Regions from separate parts of the Homo sapiens genome. Here region 1 is linked to region 2. Evidence: promoter capture Hi-C in human tissues and cell types (Jung and others, 2019). All regions are on one chromosome and are shown on one strand. Each heading gives the region's core, a stretch centred on a gene start or on the middle of the fragment in contact. The rest is flanking DNA. Distances are from core to core; before and after follow the strand shown.

Region 1 (5,290 bases), core at 702-3,201, 130 kb before region 2:
CTTTGGGAGGCTGAGGCGGGCAGATCACAAAGTCAGGAGTTTGAGACCAGCTTGGCCAACATGGTAAAACCCCATTTCTACTAAAAACACAAAAATTAGCCGGGCATGGTGGCAGGTGCCTGCAATCCCAGCTACTCGGGAGGCTGAGGCAGGAGAATCACTTGAACCCGGGAGGCAGAGTTTGCAGTGACCGAGATTGCGCCACTGCACTCCAGCCTGGGCAACTGAACAAGACTCTTGTCTCAAAATAAATAAATAAATAAATAAATAAATAAATAAATAAATAAATAGTTTAAAAAGATCTTCCTTCTGCACCCAAGTCCTACAGGAATCCTGGGAACAACTTCGCCAAGGCTGAGTCCATCACTTACTATCACTCCCTTTTTATCTGGATGACTACTACTTAGTTTCTGTATATTTAATCAAGGCTATAAATTTAGAGACTATAATAGAGTGTTTATATGAAAGTTATATTTTAGGGCCAGGCGTGGTGGCTCATGCCTGTAATCCCAGCACTTCGGGAGGCTGAGGCGGGTGGATCATGAGGTCAGGAGATCGAGACCATCCTGGTTAACATGGTGAAACCCTGTCTCTACTAAATATACAAAATTAGCCAGGCATGGTGGTGCATGCCTATAATCCCAGCTACTCAGGAAGCTGAGGCAGGAGAATCACTTGAACCAAGGAGATGGTTCAAGAGATTGCGGTGAGCCAAGATTGTGCCATTGCACTCCAGACTGGACAACAAGAGCAAAACTCCGTCTCAAAAAAAAAAAAGTTATATTTTAGGAAGCAAAGGAAAAGATCTCAATGAGGTCTTTAAGACCTGTGTTAATGAAGTTATTTATTATTATTATTAATATTATTCTTATTTTGAGACAGAGTTTTATTCTTTTTGCCCAGGCTGGAGTGCAATTAGCCAGGCATGATGGCACATGCCTGTAATCTCAGCTACTCGGGAAGCTTAGGCAGGAGAATCTCTTGAGCCTGGGAGGCAGAGGTTGCAGTGAGCCAAGTTCATGCCACTGTAGTCAAGCCTGGGCAACAGAGTGAGACCATGTCTCAAAATATATATATATAATAATAATAATAACTCCAAACCAATTTAATGTCCCTGTCTAGGGGAACTGGAGACTGATAGCTTCTCTCAGTGTTTCTAGGACTGGCTGACTTTTCCTTCAGACTTTATTCATATGCGCTTCTGACATGGATCCCTATCAAACTGACTGATCCAGATGCAGGTGTACATTTTCTTTTTTCTTTTTCTTTTTTTGAGACAGAGTTTCACTCTTGTTGCCCAGGCTGGAGTGCAATGGTGCAGTCTCAGCTCACTGCAGTGTGGGCAAAGGATTACCTAGGTGCCGAGGCAACAGACTGAAGGCACAAACTGTTTCACTATAATAAAGAAAATAGAATAGTTATAATACAAATTAGATATAGAGATGATCATGGACATTATCAATCATTAGTATAAACATTATTAATCATTAGCTTTTAATATTACTCTTTGTTGTATTACTAATATAAACAAGAAATAACCGGCAGGTATAGGGTCCGGTGCTGAAGGGACATTGTGAGAAGTGACCAAGAAGGCAAGAGGTGAGCCCTCTGTCACGCCCGCATAAGGGCCGCTTGAGGGCTCCTTGGTCAAGCAGTAACGCCAGTGCCTGGGAAGGCACCCGTTACTTAGCAGACCATGAAAGGGAGTCTCCTTTCCTTGGAGGAGTCAGGGAACACTCTACTCCACCAGCTTCTTGTGGGAGGCTGGATATTATCCAGGCCTGCCCAGTTTTCCAGAGGCCTAAACCCCTCCCTGTGACGCTGTGCTTCAGTGATCACGCTCCTTGTCCACTTTCATGTTCCTCCCATACTCCTGGTTCCTCTTTGATCTCGCTCTGTCACCCAGGCTGGAGTGCAGTGGCAGGATCTCGGCTCACTGCAAGCTCCGCCTCCTGGGTTCACGCCATTCTCCTGCCTCAGCCTCCTGAGTAGCTGGGACTACAGGCGCCCACCTCCATGCCCAGCTAATTTTTTGTATTTTTTTTAGTAGAGACGGGGTTTCACCGTGTTAGCTAGGATGGTCTTGATCTCCTGACCCTGTGATCCACCTGCCTCAGCCTCCCAAAGTGCTGGGATTACAGGCATGAGCCACCGCGCCCGGCCTGATCTTTCTTATAAGTGCATAGAGGAAAATGCTGATGTATGCTGCCTTCCCTCTCTGCTTCGGCTACCTAAAACAGAAGGGCTCCCTATCCCATGATCACGTGATTTGCCTGACCTTATCAATCACTTGGATAACTCACCCTCCTTACCCTGCCCCCTTGTCTTTTTTTTTTTTTTTTTTTTTGAGATAGAGTCTCGCTTTGTCGCCCATGCTGGAGTGCAGTGGTGTGATCTCAGCTCACTGCAAGCTCCGCCTCCTGGGTTCACACCATTCTCCTGCCTCAGCCTCCCGAGTAGCTGGGACTACAGGTGCCCGCCACGACGTCCGGCTAATTTTTTGTATTTTTAGTAGAGATGGGGTTTCACCGTGTTAGCCAGGATGGTCTCGATCTCCTGACCTCGTGATCCACCCGCCTCAGCCTCCCAAAGTGCTGGGATCACAGGCGTGAGCCAGCGCGCCCAGCCACCCCCTTGTCTTGTATTCAATAAATATCAGCGCGCCCAGCCATGCAAGGCCACTACCAGTCTCCATGTCTTGGTAGTGGTCCCCCCGGCCCAGCTGTTTTCTCTTTATCTCTGTCTTGTGTCTTTATTTCTTATGATCTCTCATCTCCACACATGGGGAAAACATCCGCTAAGCCCCGTAGGGCTGGACCCTACACTGCAACCTCCCCGTCCTGGGTTCAAGCGATTCTCGTGCCTCAGCCTCCCAAGTAGCTGGGACTACAGGCGCATGCCACCGTGCACAGCCAATTTTTGTATTTTTAGTAGAGACGGGGTTTCATGATGTTGGCCAGGGTGGTCTTGAACTCCTGAACTCCGGCAATCCACCCACCTTGGCCTCCCAAAGTGCTGGGATTATAGGCGTAAGCCACCATGATTGGCCTTTTTTTGTTTTTCAGGCAGGGTCTCACTCTGTCACCCAGGTTGGAGTGCAGTGGTGCAATCTTGGCTCACTGCAAACTCTACCTCCTGGTGGAGTGATCCTCCCACCTCAGTCTCCTGAGTGGCTGGGACTACAGATGTACATGCGCTACCATGCCCCTCTAATTTTTGCATTTTTTGTAGAGATGACACTCTCTACATGTTGCCCAGGCTGGTCTTAAACTCCTGACCTCAAGTGATCCACCTGCCTTGGCCCCCAAAGCGCTAGGATTAGAGGCGTGAGCCACCACACCCAGCTCAGATGTACATTTTCTTCCATTTCACATCTCAATTATTACTCACTAGTTCTCCGTCGTCTAAATTCCATCTTCCAAAAGAGAGAACCATTTTATTAGCCTTAGTCATCTGTATAAAACAGTAGCTAGAACTATCAGAGACTCCAAAGCAGATGACAACAGGGGGGCACAGGGTGGCGTGGTGAAGGAGCGGCAGCTGTGAGCTAGCTGTCCAGCAGAACCACACAGTTAACCTACTCTCCTTGGGGGTAACAAATCAACCCCGTGAATGTGTTCTGAGTAAGAGGAATGCCCAGCACCATATACCAACCTCTCTAAAAAGAGTCTTCCGGAAACAGTCAAAGGTCCCAGAGTACATGGGAGGTTGTCCAGGCAAACTCGGTGGCTGTGTCTGCAGTCGGACCTGAAAACAGAAGTTAAAATGCAGTCACCTACCAGAATCAGAACTGCCTGTCAGCAGCAATGGCCCAACTGTCTGCCAAACTGAACAGGGAAGGCTGTACCCTTGTACATGTCTTTGGCATTCACTTAACCTGCTGGATTCAAACTTCTCTTTCATTTCATTAGTACTTCATTCCTTTTATTGGCAAATAATATCCCATCGTATGAATAAATCACATTTTGTATGCCTGCCTATTCATCAGTTCATAGACATTTGTGTTTTTCCTACTTTTTGATTATTATGAATAATGCTGCTATAAACATTTGTGTACAAGTTTTTTGTGTGGATATATGTTTTCAGTTCTCTTCGGTATTGTATTGGTCAGAATTCTCCAGAGAAACAGAACCAACAGGAGATATATATCAAGAGATTTATTATAAGCAATTGGCTCATACAATTATAAAGGTTGAGAAGTCCCAAGATCTGTAGTCGGCAAGTTTGAGACCCAAAAAGAACCAATGATTCAGTTCAAGTCTGAAGGCGGGAAAAGACTAATGTCCCACCTCAAGTATTCAGGCAGGAGTTCCCTCTTACTTGCAGGAAGTGTCAGTCAGCCTTTTGATCTATTTAGGCCTTCAACTGGATGAGGTCCACTCACATTAGGGAGGACAATTAGCTTTAATCAGTCCACAGATTCAAATGTTAATATCCAAAACCACCCTCACAAGCACACTCAGAATAATGTGTGACCAAATACCTAGGTACTCTGTGGCCTAGTCAAGGTGACACATAAAATTAACCATCACAGGTATTTATCCACTGGCATAATTTCTAACTTATATGTCAACTCTGTTTAAACCTTTTGAGGAACTGCCAGACTGTTTTGCAAAGTGGCTGCACCATTTTATATTCCCATAAGCAGTCTAGGAGGGTCCCAATTTCTCCATATCTTCAATACTTATTATCTTTATATATATATACTTTTTTTTTTTGGAGACAAGGTTTCACTCTGTCACTCAGGCTGGAGTGCGGCGGTGTGGTCAATAGCTCACTACAACCTTGACCTCCTGGGCTCATGCAATCCTCCCACCTCAGCCCCCCAAGCAGCTGGGACTACAGGTGCACACCACAATGCCAGGCTAATTTTTATTGTTTTTGTAGAGACAGAATCTCACTATATTGCTCTATATCTAACTTTTTTTTTTAAGCCATCATATTGGGTATGAGGTGGTATGTCATTGTGATTTTGATTTGCATTTCCATGATGGATAATGACACTGAACAACTTCTCACATGCTTATTAGCCCATCTTCAGAGAAATGCCTATTTAGGTCCATGGCTGGGTGTGGTGGCTCACATCTGTAATCCCAGAACTTTGGGAGGCAGAGGTGGAAGGATCACTTGAGGCCAGGAGTTCAAGATTACAGAAAACTGTGATGGTGCCACTACACTTCAGCTTGGGTAAAAGAGCAAGACCTGGTCTCTTTTTATTTATTTATTGAGACAGGGTCTCACTGTCTCGCCCATGCTGGAGTGCAGTGGTATGATCTTGGCTCACTGCCAC
Region 2 (3,877 bases), core at 1,225-3,724:
TGGGAGGGGAAGTCCAGGCCTCCTTGTGCCAGCTACCAGGAGGGACACTCACCTCATCATGTAGCAGTGAGAAGTCCAGACTGCTCACAGGAGGAAAAGTGGGGTACAGACCTTGTTCCATACTACACTTGTAACTCTCAAAGAGTGTGGCAAGACGGGCACAATTATACATGACAAAGGTGCCACTCTTTGTGCCCTTCGTGGAGATACTGCTGTCAGCCAGAGCCAGGAAGAGCTGGGGAATAGAAGCACAGCTGCAGAGAGAGAAGGCAGCCACCACACCCTGTGCCCCAACACTGGCCCTGTCAGGCTCCCAGGCTCACCTGACTCTGTGGGGCTGTGCTCAGCATCTCAAACTTGATGGTGGCCACAGAGAGAACACCAAAGATCTCTGTCCAGGCTGGGTCTGAGGGAGTATAGGGTTGGTCAGTCAGTCTGCAGGCAAGGGCAGGGATGCAAAAAACCTGCCCCTAACCCAGAACATAGCCAGGGTTTCCCAGGCACACCTTGTGCCAGATCCCCACCATGCTTCAGTGCTGAGGCCTTGCACACCTGGGTATGCCGGAACCTGTGTTTGGAAGAGAGGAAGGCCAGTGGGCAGGGTCCTGGGTAAAGAGTCCCCCCTCATTACCCTGGCTTAGGTTGGTGTTCCTCCCAGCCTCACTCACTCGTAGTACTCAGGGGCAGTCATCAGAGTGCCAGGTGCACCAGCTACTTTCACAGGGCCACAGATGAGGTGCTTCTGTCAGAAAGATGTCAGGGGCTCAGCCTAGTTGGCGCTACTCTCCAGGAAGTCCCTTGAGGAGCCCAAATCTGGTGCCTCTACTCAGCCCAGACTCCCTCAAATTGGAACTGCCAGGTTGAGTGCCTCCGTCTACCCAGCCACTCAGGCTACGCATGGTTCATCCTTCTCAACCTGGTCTTCAGTGTTCTTGGGATGTGTCTACAGACCCCCCTTCCCCAGAGCCTCTGCACCTGCTGTACATGCCCTCTCAAGTCCAGCAACTCCCCCAAGGTCAAGTGTTGGTTTCTGTCAGCTAACAAGCCCCTCGGTGGGTTTTCAAGGGCCCTCTGAGGTTGGGGGTTAGGTGGTGGGGAGCTCCACCATCATTATTAACCTACCTGTCTGAGTGGAGCCTTGTCAACCAACTTCTGCCAAAGCAGGTCCAACTTCTGTTGCTGGAACTCCTCCTCACAGCTAACAACATGTACAACCAGGCAGCCGCCTGTACCAGTATCTGAGGCCCCAGCCTAAGGGAGGACAATCATAACTGTGGAAGTACAGTATACTTGGTTTGGGAGAACCTACAGGGCTGGGAGTCACTAACCAGGCCTGGGTGGCTGTCCTCGGGCCAATGCCATAGAGCCTCTTGCAGCTCAGCCAGCACAGAGAGGAGATCCTCAGTCACTGAAAAGAGAACAGACAGGTGCTGAGACTGACAAGAAGCAGAGATGTGCCCCTAACCCCCTCCTGCCTTTTCTGGCCCTGCTAGGCTTCAGGTCCTACCCAGACAGTTGTCCAGGTTGGGGTCATAGCCAGCTGTGCGGCCCTGTTCTTCCACCAGCTCCTTCAGACACAGTCTGCCTAGGATGCCAGGGGACAGTGTCCTCCCGTCATTAGCAGAGGTAAGTTCTTCAAGGGCGTGGCTCCTCAGGGTGTGGGAGGAAGCTCTCTCCGAGGCAGCGGGCCAGTCCACCCGCAGTTGCTGCAGGAAGGTCAGCATGTGCGGATCCCGCACAGCTGGCACTAGGCGCACGCACACCCTGCGAAGGGAGGGCGGCCGCCTCAGTCTGAGCACCTGGTCCAGCTCGCCACGACTTCCCACCTCCAGCCGCAGTCCCCACGGGCGGCGCCGCTCGCTTTCTAGGTACCCGGCAGTCCCACTTTCTCCATTCCGGCCCCGCGGCCCCGCTCACCCGTGAGCGCGCAGGGCTCGCGCCAGGTGATCGGCCACGAGCACCGTACGCAGCTGGCTCAAGCGGAGTGCGCAGGGGGAGCTGCGCAGTGCTGGGCAGTGTAGTAAGACGCGCTGGCCCAGCGAGGCAGGCGAGGCGGGCGTGGCATAGGCGGCCACGGCGCTGAGGACGCGCTCGAAGACGGCGGACCGCTGCAGTTGGAGAGACAGACCCGCGGGGGTCGGCGCGCAGCGCAGCACCGGGGCCACACCGGGGCCCTGCAGGCAGGCGAGGGCATGGAGCAAATGCTCCGGAACCTGCGGGAGAACGGGCGTGTAAAAGAGCCACGGCACGGGGCCCATCTCCCGGCCGCACGGCCCCGCCCGGCTCACGCCCACCTGGCCGTCATCGAAGCGCGCCTGCAGCGCGCGGTGCGGTGCCAGAAAGTCTCGGGAACGCAGGTGGCGGGTGCGCGTCTCCTTGATCCACACCGGACCGCCTGGCCCCAGGGCCGCGTTGAGGGCCCCCAGCGTCTCCCCGACCCCAAGGCGCCTGGTCGCCATGGTGACCGGAAGGAGTAAGCGGAACCGGAAAAAAATTTAGGGAGGTGGAACTTCCGGAAAGGACCGACTAGCTGGGGCGGGGATGCGGCGGTGGTCCCCGTAAGTGGACAGGTGCGCCAGTGGTAGCCCTGTCGGCTGCTTTCGACCTACCGCCCCCAGCGCCCCTTCCGCGTGGTCCACCTGCACAGCCGGGCCCCGGATCTGAAATCTCGGGGCCCTCCCTGGGCCTAGGGTTCTTTCGCTGTGACCCAGGCCTTAACCAGGAAAAGGATCCTCGCGACCCGGTGGGCGCTTAGACCGGGTACCGTCTCTTCTCATCGAAGTCTCACATGTTTGTTTTAATAACATTTCATTTCTCCCATTTTACACATGATGAATATTCGTCACTGGAATAAGGCAGTATAACATTAAGGCCACTTTCACGACCTACTTAAAATATCTCGTTTTAAAAAGAATAGTGTTCCGCGGTTTCAGGTTATTTGCAAGCATTTTCTCGTTTGAGATATGGGTGTTTTTTTGTTTGTTTGAGACGGAGTCTTGCTCTTGTCTCCCAGGCTGGAGTGCAGTGGCACGATCTCGGCTCACTGCAGCCTCCACCTCCCGGATTCACAGGATTCTCCTCCTCAGCCTCCCGAGTAGCTGGGATTACGGGCGCCCGCCACCACGCCCGGCTAATTTTTGTATTTTTAGTAGAGACGGGGTTTCGCCATGTTGGCCAGGCTGGTCTCGAACTCCTGACCTCGTGACCTGCCCGCCTCGGCCTCCGAAAGTGCTGGGATTACAGGCATCAGCCACTGCACCCAGCCCGGGTGGTCTTTATGCCCAATAAATAAGCACTCTGATACAGTTGGCGGTTTTCTTCTCTTGATACCTGAGAAATCACAACCATCATGATGGCTTCCAGAATTACCAGACTTTTTTTTTTTTTTTTTGAGACGGAGTTTCGCTCCTGTTGCCCAGGCTGGAGTACAGTGGTGTGATCTTGGCTCACCGCAACCTCCCCCTCCCGGGTTCAAGTGATTATCCTGCCTCAGTCTCCCAAGTAGCTGGGATTACAGGCACGCGCCACCACGCCCGGCTACTTTTGTATTTTTAATAGAGACGGGGTTTCTCCATGTTTGTCAAGCCTCGAACTCCCGACCTCAGGTGATCCGCCTGCCTCGGCCTCCCAAAGTGCTGGGATTACAGGCGTGAGCCACCGCGCCCGGCTCAGAATGACCAGCTTTTAATGTGACTCCTTTAACCTGGTGTGCTTTAACAACGATCCTTAAAGCTTCCTGTTTTAGGCAACAGCCATTTACGGGCCAACCAAATAATGCGACCATAATAGAAAATAGGCCTCAGTTGGAGTATCTTGCTCCTCTACCAATAGGAAAGGTCTTTTTCTTTCTCCCACAAAGGTTCCCAAATGTCTTCAT

Evidence for each region. The method cuts DNA at HindIII sites, captures the fragments that hold promoters and counts their contacts. A contact is called where the count stands out against the background at its distance.
Region 1: a contact is called between a fragment that was not itself captured here and the fragment with the promoter of DALRD3 in region 2, in 1 of the 25 tissues and cell types used here (adrenal gland).

What each region holds. Positions count from the first base shown.
Region 1 is chr3:48,888,326-48,893,615 of GRCh38, forward strand. It overlaps SLC25A20 (solute carrier family 25 member 20), which reads right to left. Exons shown (of 9, transcript NM_000387.6): 2 at 3,655-3,747. Among named protein-coding and RNA genes, the nearest start is that of SLC25A20, 7.9 kb to the right of the region's middle. The HindIII fragment of the contact is 4,581 bases long and covers 1-4,242 here.
Region 2 is chr3:49,016,106-49,019,982 of GRCh38, forward strand. DALRD3 (DALR anticodon binding domain containing 3) reads right to left here and starts at 2,475. Exons shown (of 12, transcript NM_001009996.3): 1 at 2,295-2,475; 2 at 1,918-2,213; 3 at 1,508-1,764; 4 at 1,329-1,408; 5 at 1,123-1,251; 6 at 669-742; 7 at 507-568; 8 at 324-406; 9 at 53-235. The coding sequence starts at 2,459. RefSeq lists enhancers at 896-965, 1,251-2,022 and a silencer at 1,471-1,705. The HindIII fragment of the contact is 18,150 bases long and covers 1-3,877 here.